2 separate regions of the Homo sapiens genome follow, and region 2 is linked to region 1. Evidence: promoter capture Hi-C in 16 types of primary human blood cells and fetal thymus (Javierre and others, 2016). All regions are on one chromosome and are shown on one strand. The core of a region is centred on a gene start or on the middle of the fragment in contact, and the rest is flanking DNA. Distances in the headings are between cores, read along the strand shown. Region 1 holds the start of CERK (ceramide kinase). Region 2 overlaps TRMU (tRNA mitochondrial 2-thiouridylase).

The links. Contacts are between HindIII fragments. The CHiCAGO score rates a contact against its expected background, and 5 or more counts as called.
Region 2: a contact is called between a fragment that was not itself captured here and the fragment with the promoter of CERK in region 1, in 2 of 17 cell types (M0 macrophages and endothelial precursors). The highest score is 5.9, in M0 macrophages.

What each region holds. Positions count from the first base shown.
Region 1 is chr22:46,735,600-46,740,680 of GRCh38, reverse strand. It overlaps CERK (ceramide kinase), which reads left to right and starts at 2,429. Exons shown (of 13, transcript NM_022766.6): 1 at 2,429-2,674. The coding sequence starts at 2,533. It overlaps LOC105373077 (a long non-coding RNA gene), which reads left to right and starts at 4,289. Exons shown (of 2, transcript XR_001755593.2): 1 at 4,289-4,378. RefSeq lists enhancers at 1,587-1,916, 1,290-1,948, 3,187-3,356, 4,044-4,617 and a silencer at 2,077-3,036. The HindIII fragment of the contact is 34,881 bases long and covers 1-5,081 here.
Region 2 is chr22:46,335,866-46,340,902 of GRCh38, reverse strand. TRMU (tRNA mitochondrial 2-thiouridylase) reads right to left here. Exons shown (of 11, transcript NM_018006.5): 2 at 2,959-3,124. Among named protein-coding and RNA genes, the nearest start is that of TRMU, 2.7 kb to the right of the region's middle. RefSeq lists a silencer at 4,742-4,791 and enhancers at 4,600-5,037, 4,932-5,037. The HindIII fragment of the contact is 870 bases long and covers 2,933-3,802 here.

The DNA.
Region 1 (5,081 bases), core at 1,180-3,679:
CTGCTCTTTCCTCCCATCCCTCCAGTGCTGTGCCCAGAGTCATGGCCCTGGCCCCACACAGGGCCTGACCCCCACCCAACCCCTCTCCCATGCAACTCAACTGCAGGATGTGCATCTTCTGGAAACCTGGGCTTCGTGACATCACCCTGTCTCCCTGAGCATGAGCATGGGGCCCTGCAGTGGCCAGGCCCCTCCCCAGCCCATCCTAGGACTACAGGTCCCCTGGGTCTGCTCAGGCTGCCATAACAAAATATCACGGACTGGATGGCTTCAACAACAGCAATCTGTCGTCTCCCATGAACAGTTGGCAGAGGCTGGAAGTCTGAGGTCAAGGTTCAAGCCCACAGGGTTGGCCTCCTGGAGGTCACTCTCTTTTGTTGCCCCTTCCCATGGCCACCCCTGTGTACACACGCCTCGGGGGTCTGTGTGTGTTCACGTTTCCTCTTCTTTTTTTTTTGAGATGGAGTTTCGCTCTCGTCACCCAGGCTGGAGTGCAATGGCGCAATCTCAGCTCACCTGGGTTCAAGCAATTCTCCTGCCTCAGCTTCCGGAGTAGCTGGGATTCAGGAGCGCACCACTGCACCCAGCTAATTTTTGTATTTTTAGTAGAGACAGGGTTTCACCATGTTGACCAGGATGGTCTCCAATGCCTGACTTCAGGTGATCCACCCGCTTCAGCCTCCCAAAGTGCTGGGATTACAGGTGTGAGCCACAGAGCCCGGTCAACATTTCCTCTTCTTGTAAGGACGCGCTGGATGAGGGCCCACCCTAACAGCCTCATTGAATCTCCTGTGTGTTTTGTAACTGATGTTGCTGTCTCCCCCAACGGAGCTCCTTCGGGGCCTAAGCACTTCTGAGTCGTCTCTGGGCCCCCACCTCTGGCTGCAGGATTTTAAGCCAAGGCGTGCAGCCGGGGGACAGCAACGTGAATACGCCGGGAGGGGCACGGGGAGCCTAAGCACAGGGAGGCCCAGGGAAGGGGTCCCCAGTAGGGACGCTGGTGCTCTCGGGCCCCTGCCCATGCCACCCTTGCCTGCCAACCCTCTTCGCATGCAGCGGCACCCTCCTGCCACTGGCATGAGCTTTTCTTTCCAAGTAAGTTTCAGATCCACATTTCCCAGGCCTCAGAGCGGCAGCTGAGGGAGGGAGGAGGCTGGGCAGGCCTCGCTGCTGCACACCCCACTGTGTGCCACGATCAGGTACTGCCTGCTAGGACTCTGACTGGGCCCACGGTGGCTGCAGGACTGTCCTGGGGCCTTCACTGCATGGCCTGAACAGGGGCTGGGCTCCCAGGGAGGAATGATTCATGGCTGGTTCCCGCCCTATAGACAAGACAGTCACAAGGAGCTGGCAGGGTAAGACCTGTATATGCTGCCACCTGGTGCCAGGCACAGCAGCAAGGCCACGTGGACCTAGCCCACCTCACCTCTGCCTGCAGCAGCAGGGCTGGGTAGGGGAGCCGAGGGGAGGGGCAGGCCTCAGACCTCAGTGTCACATCCAGGCAGTGTCAGTGTGAGCCTAGGCTCTGCCACACTGGAGCCCTGTGCTCTTGGGCAAGTGACTTAACCTCTGTGAGCACAGTCTTCACTGATAAATCAGGGAGGGATGTGCCCTCCGAACCAGGTTGTGGCTGCTTCCTATGGGGCTGTGTTAAGCACTGCGGACGCAGAGACTGGAGCTTGCATGAAGGCGCACGGCGTGCTCTGAAGGCAGGGCTGGAGTCCCTGCAGGCTGGTGATTCCTTCAGCTGTGGGGTCAAGGAGGCCTTCCTGGGGAGGCGGTGAATTGGGGCCACAGGGGCCGTGTCTCTCCAAGTCTGGGGCCCAGGCTCCGGTTCCTAGGGCCAGCTCGGGGGCGGCTGCTCAGCTGTCTGCTCTGTGGCTTCAGGCCCCAGAGCAGTTCAAAGGGCCAGCGCCCCCGCCCCCTAAAAAGACCTCCGCCTCCTGAAAGCCTTACCTGCCTGTCGGGGCCCAGCTGCAGGCCCCCTCCCAGGCCGACAGGACGCCAGGATCGTAGAGGGCACCCGCCGCCCAAGGTCACGTCGCCCGTGGCGCCCCCATCCAGGCCCGCCCCCCGCCGCGCCCGATCGCCAGGACTGCGTTTCCACGCCGCCCGGACCCCGCCTGAACCGAGGCCCGCGCGGAAGGCGCCACTGAGTCCCGGCCGGCCGCGGGAGCGCCAGATTCAGCACCCGGCACCCGCCGGAGAAGAGAGGAGAGAAAGGCAGCCGCCTCCCGGCCCCAGCGCCCTGGCCTCGGCCAGCCCCATCCCGGCCCCTTCCTCCTCCCTCTTCTCCCCTTCTCGGGTCCCCCCGTCTCTCCCTGGCTCCCGGCCCCTCCTCTACCCACGCCTCCTCCTCGCCCCCGCCCCGCCCGTCCCCTCCGCGGTCCCCGCCGCCCGCGTACGGGGTGACGCAGCGCCGCCTCCCGCCGCCCGCCGCCCGCCGCCCGGGCCACTGCAGGGGCCGCTAACGGTCCGGCGCCCCTCGGCGTCCGCGCGCCCCCAGCCTGGCGGACGAGCCCGGCGGCGGAGATGGGGGCGACGGGGGCGGCGGAGCCGCTGCAATCCGTGCTGTGGGTGAAGCAGCAGCGCTGCGCCGTGAGCCTGGAGCCCGCGCGGGCTCTGCTGCGCTGGTGGCGGAGCCCGGGGCCCGGAGCCGGCGCCCCCGGCGCGGGTGAGTGTCGCCGCCGCCCGGGTTCGGCCGGACCTGGCCAGGGAGCGGGGGCGGCTTGGGGGACCCGGCTGGGGGGACCGGGTGCAGGGAGCGAGCGGCTGTGGTAAGGCCGGGGGCCCTGGGAGCGCAGGCGCCAGGGAGGGGTCGGGGCAGGCGGGAGGGAGGCCGGGGCCAGGGGCCGGGCTGTGCGCCGCCGTCTGCTCCGGGAACCCGAGGACAAAGCGCCGCGCAGTGGAGGGGAGGCCGGCGCCCCATCCCCGCGGGGAGGTGGGACCCGGGGCGCGGGGTCGTGGCCCCCGGTGCGGTCTGTCCGCAGGGCACCTCTGGACAAGACGGACTGTGGATGGATCCCGAGGGGGGGTGCCAGGCGCTCCCCACCGCGCGCATTGCAGTTTACTCCAAGAACAGATGCTTTTCTTTAGCAGGGATCCGAAACCTGAGAGGCGCCCTTGCAGGGTGAGGACTTCCTGTTAAGAAGTTAAAGAAGGGGCCCCTGACTTTCTGTGGGGTGTGCTCCCTGCTCGGGATGGGGGAATTGGTTTCCGTGCCACGGGTTGGCTACTTGCCCCGCAGAGGCCCTCCGGATGAGGAGAAGAGTGACTTTGGTAAACATGGAGGACGCATAGCCCACCCTGGAGAGAGCCCTGCAGGAGGACAGAGGGTTTGTTTTTGTTTTTTGTTGTTTTTTGTTTGTTTTTTGTTTTTTTTTTTTTTTGAGTCGGAGTGTTGCTCTGTTGCCCAGGCTGGAGTTCAATGCCACGATCTTGGCTCACTGCACCTCCGCCTCCTGGGTTCAAGCAATTCTCCCTGCCTCAGCCTCGGAGTAGCTGGGATTACAGGAGCCCGCTACTACGCCCGGCTAATTTTTGTATTTTAGTAGAGACAGGGTTTCACCATGTTGGCCAGGCTGGTCTTGAATTCCTGACCTCAGGTGATCTGCCCACCTCAGCCTCTCAAAGTGCTGGGATTACAGGTGTGAGCAACCGCACCCAGCCTTTTTTCTTTTTAATTATTGGGGTGGGTGTGGCAGAGGCCAGGATTCATGCTGGATGTGCGGAGCTGGAATGGGGTGGGTGTGGCGGAGGCCAAGATTCTCTGGTGGATATTCGGAGCCTGGGATGACACCTTTAGACCCTGTGGGCAGTCGAGGTCAGGAGTTCTTCTGGGCGCTTTCTGGTGCTGAGTGGTGAGGATCTGTGGGTTGGGTTCTGGTGGGGACAGAGTTGAACGTTAGGTGGGGCCAAGGTCGAGGGGTGGTCTCAGACCCATGACCAACACTTGGTTTCCAGCCCTGGGGTCACCTATCTGTGGCTGGGCATCTGAGACTTGACTTTCCTAAGGTATTTCTCATGTCCCCTTTGGTAGAAATGTCACACCCCAAATATCACCCACCAGGGCCCACACACAAGGAGAACAGGTGCCTGACCTGGGCCCGAAGGGTTTGTACTTTGTTGTAAATCCCTAGGCTTCAGGAAGATGACTGCCTCCCCCAAGCACTTCCTAAGTGCGGGCCACTGGGCTTCAAACCGGATGGGTTCCTGAGAGGCAGCTGCTCCCGTCCTAGGGATGCAGGGGCCGATCTGCAGGGGCTGGAAGTGACTGGCCCAATTAGCTGCTGTGCTTGTAGCCACTGGGCTGTAAGGCTTCCCTCAGGCTCCAGCCGCCGCAGAGACGCCAGACCCTTACAGGGCATCTGTGTGGGAGGTCAGTCATCACTGCTTTCTGCCTTGGCGTCCCCAGCCAGCTCCCATTATGGTTTCTGGTCCCCCAGGTCAGGGCTTGGTGTGGTGTGGCGTCTGCTTTTGTCCAGCCTGCTGGGGTTTGCCTCTTGGCATGCTAATTGCTTCACTCTTGCTAAGCCAAGGTGCTTTTGTGCGGGTTCATCCTGAGCTGCCTGACTGGCCTGCCAGGAGCTTGGTCCCTCTTGGAGAGGGAGGGCCCTGGTTTGTGGGGCCATGGATGGTGGGGCCCTGGCTGGTGGCCCTGGCTGGTGGGCTTCCTCCAGGAAGCAGCCTGCCCTCTCCACCCAGGAGTGCTCTCCCATGCAATGGGAAAACATCAACAAGTTGGGAAACGCTAAGTTGTGAATGAGTTCAGGAATACAGCCACACTGTCTCTAGTTTTTTTCTCATAGCTTTACAGTCCCCAAAAGGAATCAGGCCCAGGTTCGATTCTTCTATGCTTGAGGTCAGTAGGGCCATAGTAGGGCAGAAGAATGTGAACCAGCTCACAGGACATTTAATTTGGTCAGCAAGGTGGCATTGCCCAGCCCTCCCCATTCCCCCAGGTGTATCTGGGCACACTGGGATTGATTAGGTTGAGGAATGATGAGAGGTGGAGAATTGTGCAAAAACTGGCCCTAGGAGGACCTGTGAGATGAGGCAGGAGCAGCCCTGGAGCTCCAGGT
Region 2 (5,037 bases), core at 2,118-4,617, 400 kb after region 1:
GAGCCAGGGGCGACCTCGGGGGCAGCCCCAGAGATGGGAAAAGACTCTACCCGGCCGCCTCCTTCTCTCAGTCCCTATCAAGCAGCGCCAGAAGGCGGCAGCAAGCACTGGCCTGGAAAGCTGGGTTTTAATCCCAGCTCCGCTCCTAATTCTGGGGTTTAATCCCAGCTCCGCTCCTAATTCTGGGGTTTAATCCCAGCTCCGCTCCTAATTCTGGGGTTTAATCCCAGCTCCGCTCCTAATTCTGGGGTTTAATCCCAGCTCCGCTCCTAATTCTGGGGTTTAATCCCAGCTCCGCTCCTAATTCTGGGGTTTAATCCCAGCTCCGCTCCTAATTCTGGGTTTTAATCCCAGCTCCGCTCCTAATTCTGGGGTTTAATCCCAGCTCCGCTCCTAATTTGCCATACTATTCAAGTCACTCTTCCTATCTGGCCTCAGCTGAGCTAAACTTCAAAAATCGCATCCACTCGTACGTTCTGAAAAAGCTGTGCTGGCAGGTGAAGTGTAAGCTCACTTGGATTCCCTGTTGTCCCCTCAAACTCTACAGTACTCATGAGGAATCCCCTAAACCAGCTTTCCCCAGCCACCCAGCCTTGATCTTGAAACTACTGCTGACTCCTCTCCTCTCTGGTCTCCCACACACATCAGTCCCTAAGCCGCATCACACCTTTTCTCAAAGAAAGACCCTGACAACCCCCCACACCACCAGCACAGCTGAAGTGCTTATTAAAGCAGATTCCAGGGCCGCCCCCAGACCTCGGTCCAGGTCTGTGTTTAACAAGCACCTCAGATCTACTGCCCGGTGGACTTGTCCTCTGGGTCCAACAAGCCAGCCCTCACCTTCCACTCCCACACTCCCTCCCCATGAAGTCCAAATCTCCAGCAACAGCACTTCCTGAGACTCTCTGCCTTTGGTCTTCCCCCAGATTTATCCTGTATTTGGCCGCCACACTCTTTTTTTTTTCTTATGTCCCCGAGAAAACTGCAGAAGTTTTTAATGCATTTATCATGCATTCTACAGATAAGTTTTTAATGCATTTATCATGCATTCTACAGGTAACTTTCCCCAGGAAAATTCAGCCATCAGTTTTGTCCATGTTGTTAATATATACGACACCCATATGTTATAGCATAGAGTCACAGAGGGTTCATATTCAAGCTCTTCCGTTGATTATTTAGGTGACCATAGTCAATTTACTTAATCTCTCTAAATTTCGTTTTATTGTTATTTCAATGGTTTTTTGGGCAACAGCTGGTATTTGGTCACATGGATAAGTTCTTCAGTGGTGACTTCTGAGATTTTGGTGTACCCGTCACCCAAGCAGTGGACATTGTACCCGATGTGTAGTCTTTTATCCCTCACCCCAGAGTCCATTATATCATTTTTATGCCTTTGCGTCCTCATAGCTTAGCTCCCCAGACTCATCTTTTTAATAATGAAAATAAAAATAGCAGGCTGGCGTGGTGGCTCACGCCTGTAATCCCAGCACTTTGGGAGGCTGAGACGAGTGGATCTTCTGAGGTCAGGAGTCTGAGACTAGCCCGGCCAACATGGCGAAACCCTGTCTCTACTAAAAATACAAAAATTATCCGGGCGTGGTGGTGCATGCCTATAATCCCAGCTACTTGGGAGGCTGAGGCATGAGAATCGCTTGAACCTGGGAGGCAGATGTTGCAGTGAGCCAAGATTGCGCCACTGCACTCCAGCCTGGGCAACAGAGCGAGGCTCTGTCTCAAAAAAAAATAGAAAAGAAAAACAGCTATGTTTATTGACTGCTTACTAATATACCAGGCATACATACTAGAACCTAATCTCAATTCTTTCATAACCCTGTGAGGCATCAGTGTTATCCTCATTTTAAAGATGAGAAAATTGGGGCTTAGAAAAGTCAAGTATCTCTTCTGGGTCTTTGTTGGCAGGAAAAAAAGAGAATTTTTTTCAATTAAAAAAACAAAGTCAAGTAAATTGCCCAAGGTCATATAATAAGCTACAGTCAGGACTCAACCCAAGGCTCTTCTGCCCCTAAAGCCCACTCAGGCAGGGGCAGCCTGTCCCGCGCACATGGCCTGCTGTGTCAGACGCCTTCGACAACTGCCCGACATTCATCACAGTCAGGGCTCACCAGAGGATGAGCCCTACACTCCTTCCACTGCAGGAACAAAAGTCCAGCCAAACTTTACAACGGTCCTGAAATACACAATCAGCATTTCTTCTCCCCTTCACGCTGCTCTCGTTACCCCATTTGGAGTCCCTTCTCTACAACTTTGTTTGCAACCCCTCCTCTCCGGTGAAGCCTTCTTGATTACTCCACACTGCAAGTTTCTCCCTCCTCTGGGTTCAGTGACTGATAGCATCACTGGTACTTCCTGCGTGCCACGCATCACTGTCACCTCTTGTGAAGATAATGTCCTCCCAACTAGACCGCAAACTCCTACAGAGCCAGGTCACAGTGAAGACATCTTAATGTTCCTAGATGTGGCACACGCCTAGCACACAGCACTTAATTATTGAGATTATATTGGATTTTAGAAAAGTTTTTGTTTGTTTCTTGTTTTCAGAGGCACAGGCCATGTATCACCTCTTTCTCAGAAATCCCCTAATCGCTGACCCACATAGCACACAGGCATTGGTGCTCACCTTCCAGGGGAGCCCTCAGCCTTAGCTCCCCTATCCTAACTGGGCAACAGAAACAGCTCAAGGTCCAAGAAAGCATTAAAGAGACTTCAGGCAAGTGGCAAAATGACAGGAGTGAGAGAGCTGGGTGTGCTGTGGGGTCCAGGCCTCGCCTCTAACACAGAGCCCCGAGGGTGGCTGAGGCCTCTTGCAGTCTTCAGCACCACCGTGGAGGGAGAGCGCTGGGCTGCAGCACAGGCGTCGGTCTGGCTGGTTACCGGATCCTTCCACTGCAAGGATCCACAGTGTGAGGAAGCTTCCTTTGTGCTGTGACCCGCACTCACCTGAACACATCATTCCAATACTCCTTTACGTAGGACACTTGATGGAAAGGGATGTCTAAGATCTGGCAAACTCTGTAAGCATCTTCACAGTCTTTGTCGGCAGTACAGACCCCATGTTCATCCAGTGAGTCCCAGTTCTTCATAAACACCCCTGTCACCTGGTAACCTGCGGGCGGGAAGGTCAATTAAAGAGAATACATAAATCAACCTTCGGTAAAACGGCAGTGATTTCTGAGCTCTGAGAAGTTCCCCACACGCTGTGCTCCTGTGCCTCTGTGCCTGGCCTGCCGGGCAGTCCCTGCTTTGCCATGTGGCTTCAGGGATCCGGTTTCCATCTTGGTGCCTGAGTCCCCAAGATTAACGAGGTGGTATTTTCTCATCTTTGTGTCCCCATCTATGTATCAGCACAATACCTAGCAGGAGGGGATCAGCCAGTGTGTGTGGAATACACGAAGGAATAGTCGAAACTCAACAAAATTTTTCAAAGCACCATTCAGTTATCAAAAAAGGAAACTCTTTTCAAAAGTTATTTCTAGTTACTATCTAAGACTTAGATTCTAAGTGATCAGATATAAAGATAATTAAAATTTTCGATATTTTGTAAGAGCTGTACCACCTAGTTTATGACCTATTTTCTACCTTTTCGATTGTAACAAAATATTCACCCAAATATTGGAAAGGCCAACTTTAGCCCTACACCACCTTAGCAAACTACACAGGTGCAGACCCTGTATGAGAAAGCTGGTTCGTTTAGGTAGGCTGAATGTAATGAAAGACAGGGCAAATGACTGCTGAAGAAGGCTTCATATAGTACCCAAAACAACAGAAATTTGATGACAAAGCTTTGTCAAAACTACACCACCACACGCGAAAGACCACCCCTATCCCAGATCAACCAGACTAATGTCTACCTAACAGTCTAAAGCCCCTGGTATAGCATCTTCCATAATCAGGGCTAAACGTGCTCCAGGCTCCTCTCCTTCCATCTCCATCTGGCCAGAACCAGCCCACACTTGCAGGCCTCTGTGATTCTGCTTGCACTGCTGACTGTGCCGGGAGGGCCGCCTCCACCTCCAAGTCTCTGCTTAGTGACATCCTACTCTTCTTTCGACTCAGCTGAGCACCTCCATCTCTAGGATGCTTTCCTCCACTCTCCCTTCCTCACAACTATTTCTGCTTATGGTCCGCCTACCCTTCTCTTTGGCACTTACTGTACCTACCATAATAGCTATGGTTATTAACAATATAAACTAATAGCCACTACTGTTTTCTGCGTACCTCGTATGTGCTGAGCACGTACTCATCAGTATGTACTATGTCATCTAATCCCTCCAGTCACCCCGTGAGGCAGGTGTTAGCCGAATTTTACAGGGGACGGCTTAATTCACTTGCCCAAGGTCAGGAGCCAAAGATGGCGCAAAGCAGAGCTCCACAAACGTGACTCTGTGAATGAGGCCTCCCGCGGGGAGCCACACAGGTGAAGTTAAACAAGTGCTCATTTCAGCGCCGGGCCCGAGGAATGCTAAGCACCCGTGGGGCTCCGTTTAGATGCCGGAAGAAATGCAAATGCTCCTGGAGAAAACTTTGTCCTCCAGCGAGCGGAGAACACAGGAGACGCTGAACAAGCAGACCCGCCGCGCGGCAGTTGTCCAGTCTGCTGAGTGGGGAGGACAAGGACCTCCCACCGGGCGGCCACAGCGTGTGCAGAGGTCAGGCCCCCGGCCCGGCGATCCCAGCTCCCCTCACCAGTGTCCACGGTCTCACAGGTGAATGTGGACGCCGCAGATCCGTGAGAAACCCTTCCCTCCCCACCCCACCCCGGCCCGCCGGCTTCTCACTGTGGGTGGGCGCGCGTGGGTGGAGAGGGGCGCGGAACTGCTCCCAGGTAGTCGGAGCTGCAGTCGCGCACACCTCCGACTACACAGGTGGAGGGCGAGGAGCCTCCGAACCAAAGTCAGAGGACGGGGTATCCTCCTGCCGACCCGCGCGCAACCAGCGGCCCAGGGAGGGAGGAGACGTGCACAACGCCACGACGGACGGGGACAGGTTTCCGGGGACACATTCGCTCGGCGGGGGGCG